2 separate regions of the Homo sapiens genome follow, and region 1 is linked to region 2. Evidence: promoter capture Hi-C in 16 types of primary human blood cells and fetal thymus (Javierre and others, 2016). All regions are on one chromosome and are shown on one strand. Each heading gives the region's core, a stretch centred on a gene start or on the middle of the fragment in contact. The rest is flanking DNA. Distances are from core to core; before and after follow the strand shown. Region 1 overlaps INTS4 (integrator complex subunit 4). Region 2 holds the start of NDUFC2 (NADH:ubiquinone oxidoreductase subunit C2).

Region 1 (5,215 bases), core at 187-2,686, 92 kb before region 2:
ATACCATTTGACCCAGCAATCCCATTACTGGGTATATACCCAAAGGATTATAAATCATGCTACTATAAAGATACATGTGCACGTATGTTTATTGCGGCACTATTCACAAGAGCAAAGACTTGGAAGTAACCCAAATGTCCACCAACGATAGACTGGATTAAGAAAATGTGGCACATATACACCATGGAATACTATGCAGCCATAAAAAAGGATGCGTTCATGTCCTTCGCAGGGAAATGGATGAAGCTGAAAACCATCCTTCTCAGCAAACTATCACAAGGACAGAAAACCAAACACCGCATGTTCTCACTCATAGGTGGGAATTGAACAGTGAGAACACTTGGACACAGGGCGGGAAACATCACACACCGGGGCCTGTTGGGGAGTGGGGGGCTGGGGGAGGGATAGCATTAGGAGAAATACCTAAAGTAAATGATGAGTTAATGGGTGCAGCAAGCCAACATGGCACATGTATACACATGTAACAAACCTGCACGTTGTGCACATGTGCCCTAGAACCTAAAGTATAATAATAAAAAAAGAGTCTTCACCACTTAAAGATATAAATCAAAATTTATGATTAAAATAATATGATGCCAGGAATTTATTTTCATAAGAATCTGGTGGAGAAGGTGAGGGTAAAGAAGTAGAAGTGGATTGGGGAAGAGGGAAAATGAAACAAGTTTGGCCACAAAATGATAATTTTTGAAGCCAGGTAATGGGTACATGGGAATTAATTAAACTATTCTCTTTACTTACATAGTATATATCTGAAATGTTCCATAACAAAAGGTTTTTTAAAAAAAAAACCCAAGTTCAAATCCATACCTTCCATTTACTAGCTGGGTGACCTTGGATACTAAACAGCTCTAAGCTTAGTTCCATATCTGGAATTTAGAGATAACAATGGTGCTGTCACCAGGATTAAATAAAATATTACATATGGAAAGTGCTTTCAAACTCTAACAAGCAATATAATGTTAACTGCTCTAAGAAGTATTATTATAGATGATTATTGGTAACAGATCTTTAATATAATAATAATGGTAGATATTGCTAAGAAAAAGACTAACGGAAAATAGATCACTGAGAGATCGAAAACTTCTTGAGAACAGAAATCCTGATTTTGGTCAGATGTGGTAGCTCACGTCTGTAATCCCAATCCTTTGGGAGGGCCAAGCAGGAGGGTTGCTTGAGCTCAGGAATTCGCGACCAGCCTGGGCAACACAGAGAGACTCCATCTCTACAAAAAAAATTAAAAAGAAAAAATTAGCCGGGAGTGGTGGCATGTGCCTGTGGTCCCAGCTCCTCAGGAGGCTGAGGTGGGAGGATGGCTTGAGCCTGGGAGTCCAGACTTCAGTGGGCAGTGATCACGCCATTGCACTCTAGATTGGGCAACAGAGCAACACTCAAAAAGATGCCAGGCACAGTGGTTCATGCCTGTAATCCCAGCACTTTGGGAGGCTGAGGTAGGTGAATCGCTTGAGCCCAGGAGTTTGAGACCAACCTTGGTAACATGGTGAAACCTCATCTCTATCAAAAATATAAAAATTAGCCAGTCTCATAACCCAGTCTCTAGATAGATAGATACGATTTTTTAAAAAATTTTTTAAAGAAAAGAACAACAAAAAAAGAAAGCCTGATTTTATTCACGTAAAACATAAGTGAAACATTTATAATGTCCCTTCAATGTTCCTAGGAACCTGCCAGGCACTGGGATAGAGACTAATGGATCTGCAGCCTCTGAATTTACGGAGCTCAAAGTCTGAAGGAGATAGACACATATGGCAAACAATTGCAACGCATAAGACTTAACAATTGTGCTAATGGACACCGTCCAGTGCCCAGAACAAAGTCTGATATATATTTGTTGAGTAAAATGTATCACAAAAGCATCAATTAATTCATTTATTCATTCAACAAATATTTATTTTACCAGGCACTGTTCTTGATTCTGTAGAAACAACAATTAAAAAACATAAAAATCCCTGCTCAAGGGAAGCTTATGTTCCTGCATGGGGAAATGGACAAGGAACATAATTAACAAGAAATTATACAGAATATTAGAAGATGGTAATTACTATGGAGAAAACAAAATCAAGGAAGGGGACTAGGAAGTGCGGGGTGGGGATAGGCAGTTTCGATATGAAACAGAAGGGTAAAGGAAGACCTCAATGTAACGGTGACATTTGCATGCTGATAGCTGCAATATGAAGTACAAGTCACCATTTATAACATAGTCTTAAAATTGTCAAAAATATGCTTAACTTAAATCTAACAAAGCCTATAGATCTAACTTTCAGTTCATAGTAAATACAGAGAACAGAGGAACAAGTTAATCCTTAAAGAAGTAAATGAATTCAGAAAACAAGACATTTTACAAAAGAACTGTCTCAGTTTCTTCATCAAATCAATGTCACCAAAATAGTAACTGTTGTAGATTTTTGAAAAGACTGAATGCCATGTGGGGACCTGGTTTGCATTTTGATTTGAATACATCAACTATAAAAAGGTACTGGGAGAACAACTACAGAAATCTAAATATCAACTAATTCTTAGATGACATTAAAGAATTACTTAACTTTATTCATTAGGGTTAGGTGGCTATGTTAAAAAATAAAAAGTCCCTCTACTTTCTCATAGCAGTGAGAAAAAAAAAGAAAACAACAAAAAGGTATCCCTTTTTAATAGATATGTAATGAAATAATTAGAAAAAAATGACATATCTTTTTAAAAATTCAACAAAACAAGGCTGGGCGCGGTGGCTCACACCTGTAATCCCAGCACTTTGGGAGGCCGAGGCAGGTGGATCACCCGAGGTCTGGAATTCGAGACTAGCCTGGCCAACATGGTGAAACCCCATCTCTACTAAAAATACAGAATTAGCTGAGCGTGATGGCGCACTCCTGTAGTCCCAGCTACTTGGGAGGCTGAGGCAGGAGAACTGCTTGAACCCAGGAGTGCTATTACACTCCAGCCTGGGCAACAGAGTGAGACTCATCTCAAAAAAAATAATAACAAAATAAAATAAAATTCAGCGAAAAAATAGAGCAAATTTGGCAAAATACTAATAACTGTTAAATTCTAGGAATGGATATTTGGTAGGTCACTATAGTATTTTATCTACTTTTCCATAAGCTTAACAATTTGGGGGCTGAGTGTGGTGGTTCACACCTGTAATCTCAGCAATTTGGAAGCCCAAGGAGGGTGGATTGCTTGAGCCCAGGAATTCGAGATCAGCCTGTGCAACATAGCAAAGCCCTGTCTCTACAAAAAAAAAAAAAAAATACAAAAATTAGCCAGGCATGCTGCACATGCCTGTAGTCCCAGCTACTCAGAAGGCTGAGGCAGGAGGATCAATTGAGCCTCGGAGGTCGAGGGTACAGTGAGCCGTGATAGCACCACTGCACTCCCGCCTGGGCGAGAAAGCAAGACCCCATCTCAAAAATAATAATAGTAATAATAATAATGATTTTTGGGCTGGGAATGGTAGCTCACGCTTGCAATCCCAGCACTTTGGGAGGCCAGGGTGCATGGATCACTTGAGGTCAGGAGTACAAGACCAGCCTGGCCAACACAGCAAAACCCCACCTCTACTAAAAATACAAAAAAAATTAGCTGGGTGTGGTGTCACACACCTGCGGTCCTAGCCACTCTGGAGGCTGACGCAGGAGAATCACTTAAACCAAAGAGACGGAGGTTGCAGTGAGCCAAGATTGTGCCACCACTATACTCCAGGCTGAGTGACAGACCAAGTCTCAAAAAAAAAAAAAAAAAAAATGCAAAACTTAGCCTGGAGTAGTGGCACGTCTGCAGTCCCACCTACGTGGAAGGCTGAGCCAGGAGAATCACTTAAGCCCAGGAGTTCCAGGCTACAGTGACCTATGATGATGCCACTAAACTCTAGGCTGGGTGACAGTGAGCCTCTGTCTCAAAAACAGTTTTTTTGGCCAGACGCAGTGGCTCACGCCTGTAATCCTAACACTTTGGGAGGCCAAGGTGGCTGCATCACTTAAAGTCAGGAGTTCGAGACCAGCCTGGCCAACATGGCAAAACCCCGTCTCTACTAAAAATACAAAAATTAGCAGGGTGTGGTGGCACGTGCCTGTAATCCCAGCTACTAAGGAGGCTGAGGCAGGAGAATCGCTTGAACCCAGGAGGCAGAGGTTGCAGCGAGCCAAGATTGCACTACTGCACTCCAGCATGGGCAACAGAGCGAGACTCTGTCTCCAAAAAAAAAAAAAAAAAAATGTATTTTTAATTAAAAAAGAGGGCCACTGCAATTAGATATGAGGGCCATGAATTAGGAAAGGAACAGCAGGACCACATTCCAGAGATGAATGGGTCATGATTGATATTTACTCCTCTTTTGTGCTTCCACTGTACTCTGCACATACTGCACTCACAGTAACTTCAGCAGTATGATGCACCTTATCATTGACATGTCTTGTTTCCATCTACTATACACAGTATAACTTTCTGAGGTCAAGATCTGTATCTTTTTTATCTCGGTATCCATAGTACCTAGCACTTGGAAGACACTCAATAAAAGCTTCCTAATGAATACCCTATTTATTTGTAATATTAACCATTCTGCAGACATGATACAACTCCCATGATATACTCCCATCAGATCCTCAAGATTTTCTTACCTTGTAATAATGTTCCAAGAGAATCCTGACTACTCCCTCTACGCTTTCCGCCTCGACAGGCTTCCTGGCAAACTGGAGCAAGTATTGCAAAGCATCTGCTGGGGAGGTAGCTTTACACAGATCTATGTGGAGTGCTGCAGATTTACTTGGTTTTGTTAGTCGGAGTTTCTTAGTAGCAATTTCCTCCTGTGGCTGCAAGGGGTAGAGAAAATCGAAAACACAGAATCTGCAAATTTAACTTTGCCTCATTTGGTGGAAATGATTTTCCATTATACCAAATAATATATTTAGCTGATGGACTTAGGAAAATACAGTATTATAAACCAGAAAGAGTACCGGGTTGGTGACAAGGCCATGAGTCTCAATTTTGCCTTTACCAGTTCCTATGACTTTAGGCAAGTCATTTAATTTCTCCGAGTCTCAGTTTATGTCTCTGTAAAATAGGTATACTTTTTTTTTTTCTTAGAGATGGAGTCTCTCTATGTTGCCCAGGCTGGTCTTAACTCCTGGGCTCAAGCAATCCTGGCACCTCAGCCTCCCAAAGTGCTGGGATTACAAGCATG
Region 2 (5,442 bases), core at 1,154-3,653:
TTCTTATTTTATAGATGAGGAAACTTTGGCTCTGATCGACCTGACCATGTAACTTGCCCAAAGTGACACAGCTGGAAAGCAGCAGAGCAAGTCTGTTTATTTATTTATTTATTGGAGACAAGGTCTCAACTTTGTTGCCCAGGCTGGAGTGCAGTGGTGCAATCGTGGCTCGCTGCAGCCTCAACCTCCTGGGCTCAAGTGATTCTCCTCCCTTAGCTTCCTGAGTACCTGGGACTACAAGTGCACATCACCATGCCTGGCTAATTTTTTAAATTTTTTTGTAGAGACAGGGTCTCACTATGTTGCCCAGGCTGGTCTTGAACTCCTGGCCTCAAGAGATGTTCCTGCCTTGGTCTCCCAAAGTGCTGGGATTACAGGTGTGAACCACAGTGCCTGTGCCTAGTGAGCAAGTTTGTTTAGTTCCAAAGTGGAGCTCTTTTCATTACACCAAGTGACAGTCTTGGGCAAATATGAAGTGGTGATGAAAAGGGAAAACCTCGAGTCCTCAGAGGCATAAACGGACAAAGATGACTCCTTTCTGAAGTGAGGAGTTATGTCCAAGGGAGATAGGACTTCAATACTATTTGAGCACTGGAAATGTGGGATTTGATGGGTTGGGAGCTGACCTTCAGGCATGACATACAGCTGTAAGAAGGCAAAAGAGGTACAAGTGTGGTGACTCCTAATTGCCTGAACCATTGCCTGAGCTTTTTTCCTGATTGTGCTTCTTGGCTCCAATCAACGCCTCACATTGCTGACAAAGATGACTTTTTAAAATACAGAGCTCATCACTGCACCCTTGCAGCTCTCAAAAGCTTACAAAGTTCCTGACTGCCTAGAAAATAAATTGCCATGCTCTGCTAAAATCTCCCTTGCAGTTTTATCTAAACCTGAACACTCACTCAATCATCAAACACCCTCCATTCAGAGGTCCTTGCCCCCATTAGCTCCCACTAGCCCCACGGGCCTAGAAAGCTGTCTGTCTCTCAGTCCTGCCTGATAATCAAAGTTAACTTCAAAGACCCCTCTTCCAAAGTTCCTCTCCTCTTTTCCCTCTGGAAATCCATAGAGCTTAGCAAAGCTACTGTGGTGGTTATTATCAGAATAGTCAGTGTCTCTGATAGGAAGCCAGTGACATACTACTGGGAAGTACAGCACACTGGTTTAGAGCCTCCTATTCAAACCGTGGTCCTCAGACCAGCAGCAGCAGTGTTTGAGCGCTTGTTGTTAACATCAAGTTCCTCCCCAGACCTCATGAATCAGGATCCGCTTTTTTTTTTTTTTTGAGACAGGGTCTCACTTTGTTGCACAGGTTGGAGTGCAATGGTGCAATCTCGGCTTACTGCAACCTCTGCCTTCCAGGCTCAAACGACCCTCCTGCCTCAGCCTCCCTCAGCCTGGGACCACAGGCGTGCACCACCACGCCCGGCTAACTTTTGTATTTTTTTGTAGGGACGGGTTTTCGCCCTATTGCCCATACTGGTATCGAATTCCTGAGCTCAGGCGATCCGCCCGCCACGGCCTCCCAAGGCGCTGGGATTACAGGTGTGAGCCACCTCGCGCAGCCCAGAATCCGAATTTTAACAAGACACCTATGCTATTCGTATGCACATTAAGTTTGAGAAGCACTGGTGTCCAATATCCATTCAGAGGTCAAAAAAAAAAAAAACCAAGCTCTGCTACTTAATAGCCATATGACCTTGGGCAAGCTGCTGTTAATCTGTTAGGCTCGGTTTCCTCGTTGTGAATAATACATCCCTAAAAGTGTTTTAAGGCCGAAATGCTATCAATAATGCCCACAGTGTGAGTAGTGCATGGCATGGAGTCATGGCTCATTTGCGCACACAGCACAACACGAACTGAGGAGAGTAGTTTCGGGTCCTTCACAGACTCAGTTCCTGCTTCACTGCACCTCAGTTTCTTCAAGTGCCAAATGACACTCTGGCTCTGCTTGATTCTAAAGAGCTAATGGGGCGCGGACTCCCCGGAAAGGCGAGATGGGGCCAGCTAGGCAAAAAGGCACGGAAAAGCAGAGCACCTCAGGGGGGCCTACGGCCGGGCCAGTCTGCAGCCCTACGACCCCTTCTCCTCCCAGCCGATCCCGGCCGCGCAGCACTCACCAGCCGTCGCGATCGGCCTCCGCCGGATTAGGTTATCAATCAGGCCGGAGCAGTAGCCCAAGAAGCCGATGTAGAGGAGCCGCGGGTCGGTCAGCTTGGGCGGGGGCAGGCTCCGGGCCTCATCCGGCAGAAACCGTAAGGGTTCTGGGTTCCGCCGTGCGATCATGGTGACGCCGTTTCCACTTGAGGCCTGGTCTCAGACCACGAACTACAAGGAAAACCACGACGACCACTACCCCGGCCTAAGCGGTCAGCTTTCTCCTCCTCCTCTGCGCGCCGGACTCACGGGCACGGCGCAGCGCGGTGCAGCGCCCAAACGCTTCCCGGTACGTGTTGCTGCGGGAACCCGGCACGCGAAGTTCCGGGCTACTAAGTTTCACTTTGCTCGTCCGCCCGCGCTAATTCTCTGGTGGGAGTGGGATTCACGGGCCTGGTAACGCGGGGTCGAGGAGTACCCCAAACGAGCCAAACTGGGCGAAGACTAGGAGATACTGATTTTCTTTTCTCCCAACTTCCCCAACCAGAATTGCCTCTCCCTCCCCTGCCCCTTCTGGAAAGATTTATCTTTTCATCCAATACCCACAAATGGGCATGATGCGTAGTTTTGATAAACGTAATTAATTGAAATTCCATAAAAGCTAGTTTTCGTTTTCTGAGTTTTCAGTCGTTCATTCGCATAGACACTCCCTCCAAAGCCTAAAATTAAGGTCTGGCCAGCAACAAAAGAATTTAGAGAAGCCCAGGACTGGATCGTTTTAGTCTATTGTTGAAATTCAGATTCGGAGGCAGCACCCTAAAATGTTTCACCTCTGGGTCTTCACGTCGTTACACATGGCTGAGTGAGGAGGTGTTCCCTAAAGGTTTGAGTAATGAGGCCAGGCGCCGTCACTCACGCCTGTAATCCCATCACTTTGGGAGGCTGAAGTGAGCGGATCACTTCAGGAGTTCAAGACCAGCTTGGCCAACATGGTGAAATCCCATCTCTACGAAAAATACAAAAAATTAGCTGGGCGTGGTGGCGGGTGCCTGTAGTCCCAGCTACTGGGAAGGCTGAGGCAGCATAATCGGCTGCTCGGGAAGCTGAGGGGGGAGAATCGCTTGAACCTGGGAGGTGGAGGTTGCAGTGAGCCGAGATCGCACCATTGCATTCCAGCCTGGTCAACAAGAGCGAAACTTCGTCTCAAAAAGAAAAAAAAAAAGGTTTGAGTAATGAAAGAAGGAATTTATAATTCTGTTAAGCAATTTTCCAGTCTCTGCTGTCAGGCCTCTCAGCCGAAGCTCAACCATTGTAACCCCTGTGACTTGCACATATGCGTCCAGATGGCCTGCGGGAGCCAAGAAGTCTGGGGCAGCCAAAAACCCACAAAAGAAGTAAAACAGCCACTTCCTGCCTTAACTGATTAACAAACATTCCACCATTGTGACTGGTCCCTGCCCTACCTTAACTGATCAACCATCCTTGTGACATTCTTCTTCTGGACAATAAGTCTTATGATCTCCCCATCATGTACCTTGTGACCCCCTCCCCTGCTAACAATAGATAACAACCACCTTTTACTGTAATTTTCCATTACCTACCTAAATCCTATAAAGCAACCCCTTCCCCATCTCCCTTCATTGATTCTCTTTTCGGACTCAGCCCACTTGCACCCAAGTGAATAAACAGCCTTGTTGCTCACACAAAGCCTGTTGGTGGTCTCTTCACACGGATGCATTTGACATTTGGTGCTATGACTTGGATCGGGGGACCTTCCTTGGGAGATCAATCCCCTGTCCTCCCGCTCTTTGCTCCGTGAGGAAGATCTACCTACGACCTCGGGTCCTCAGACCAGCCCAAGGAACATCTCACCAATTTTAAATCGGGTAAGTGGCCTCTTTCTACTCTCTTCTTCAACCTCTTTCACTATCCCTCAACCTCTTTCTCCTTTCAATTTCGGCACCACCCTTCAGTCTCTCCCTTCCCTTAATTTCGGTTCCTTTCCCTGTCTGGTAGAGACAGAGGAGACCCGTTTTATCTGTGGACCCAAAACTCTGGCGCTGGTCATGGACTCGGGAAGACTGTCTTCCCTTGTGTTTAGTCACTGCAGGGACGCCTGCCTGATTATTCACCCACATTTCAGAGGTGTTCGATCACTGCGGGGACACCTGTTTTGATCTTCCACCTTGGTGGCAAGTACCACTTCCCCTGGGTGGCAAGTACCACCCCCCCTCTCTCCATGTCTCAACCTCCTCCTTTCTCTAAACTTACCTTTTTACTATGGGCAACCTTCAGCCCTCCATTCCTTCTTCTTCCTCTCTTAGCCTGTGTTCTTAAAAACTTAAAACCTCTTCAACTCTCACCTGACCTAAAACCTAAGTGTCTTATTTTCTTCTGCAACACCACTTGGCCCCAATACAAACTTGATAATGGCTCTAAATGGCCAGAAAAGAGCACTTTCGATTTCTCCAGCCTACAAGATCTAGATAATTTTTGTCATAAAATGGGCAAATGGTCTGAGGTGCCCTACATCCAGGCATTTTTTACACTTCGTTCCTTCCCTAATCTCTGTTCCCAGTGCGACTTGCCGCAAATCTTCCTTCTTTCCCTCCCGCCTGTCCCTTCAGTCCCAACCTGAAGTGCCGGTGAGTCTTTTGAATATTTCTTTTCTACCGACCCATCTGACTTCTACCCTCCTCCCTAGACTGCTCCTCCTCAGGTCGCTCCCCACCAGGCTGAATCAGCTTCCAACTCTTCCTCAGCCTCCACTTCCCCACCCTACAACCCTTCTATCATCTCCCCTCCCCACACCTGGTCCAGCTTACAATTTCGTTCTGCGGCAAATACTCCCCCACCTGCCCAATAATTTCCTCTTCAAGAAGTGGCTGGAACTGAGGGCATCGTCAGAGTGCATGTACCATTTTCTCTATCAGACCTTTCCCAAATTAATCAACACTTAGGCTCCTTCTCGTCAGACCCCACCAAATATATACATGAATTCCAGTATTTAACCCAGTCTTACAATTTAACCTGGAGTGGCTTAAATGTCATCCTAATTTCTACCCTCTCCCCAGATGAATGGGAAAGAGTGTTTCCTCTAGCCTAGTCCCACACAGACACCCACTGGCATTATGAGCCAGGCCTCCAGGAAGGTATTACAGACGGTTCCCTGAGAAGATCCCCAGTGGCACTATCAGGCAGGTTCCTCAGGTATAGCTAGGTGAGATTACATGATTTCCTGCCTAGTTGAAGGGCTTAAAAAGGCAGCATACAAATCTGTTAATTATGACAAACTTAAAGAAACTACCCAAGGTAAAGATGAAGACCCAGCCCAGTTCATGGCCT

What was found. Contacts are between HindIII fragments. The CHiCAGO score rates a contact against its expected background, and 5 or more counts as called.
Region 1: a contact is called between a fragment that was not itself captured here and the fragment with the promoter of NDUFC2 in region 2, in 2 of 17 cell types (naive CD4 T cells and M2 macrophages). The highest score is 5.3, in naive CD4 T cells.

The regions. Positions count from the first base shown.
Region 1 is chr11:77,986,456-77,991,670 of GRCh38, forward strand. It overlaps INTS4 (integrator complex subunit 4), which reads right to left. Exons shown (of 23, transcript NM_033547.4): 2 at 4,653-4,844. Among named protein-coding and RNA genes, the nearest start is that of INTS4, 5.6 kb to the right of the region's middle. The HindIII fragment of the contact is 1,128 bases long and covers 873-2,000 here.
Region 2 is chr11:78,077,459-78,082,900 of GRCh38, forward strand. It overlaps NDUFC2 (NADH:ubiquinone oxidoreductase subunit C2), which reads right to left and starts at 2,404. Exons shown (of 3, transcript NM_004549.6): 1 at 2,121-2,404. The coding sequence starts at 2,286. NDUFC2-KCTD14 (NDUFC2-KCTD14 readthrough) reads right to left here and starts at 2,404. Exons shown (of 3, transcript NM_001203262.2): 1 at 2,121-2,404. The coding sequence starts at 2,286. LOC105369401 (a long non-coding RNA gene) reads left to right here and starts at 3,737. Exons shown (of 3, transcript XR_950342.2): 1 at 3,737-3,983. RefSeq lists an enhancer at 2,124-2,183 and a silencer at 2,387-2,576. The HindIII fragment of the contact is 4,740 bases long and covers 814-5,442 here.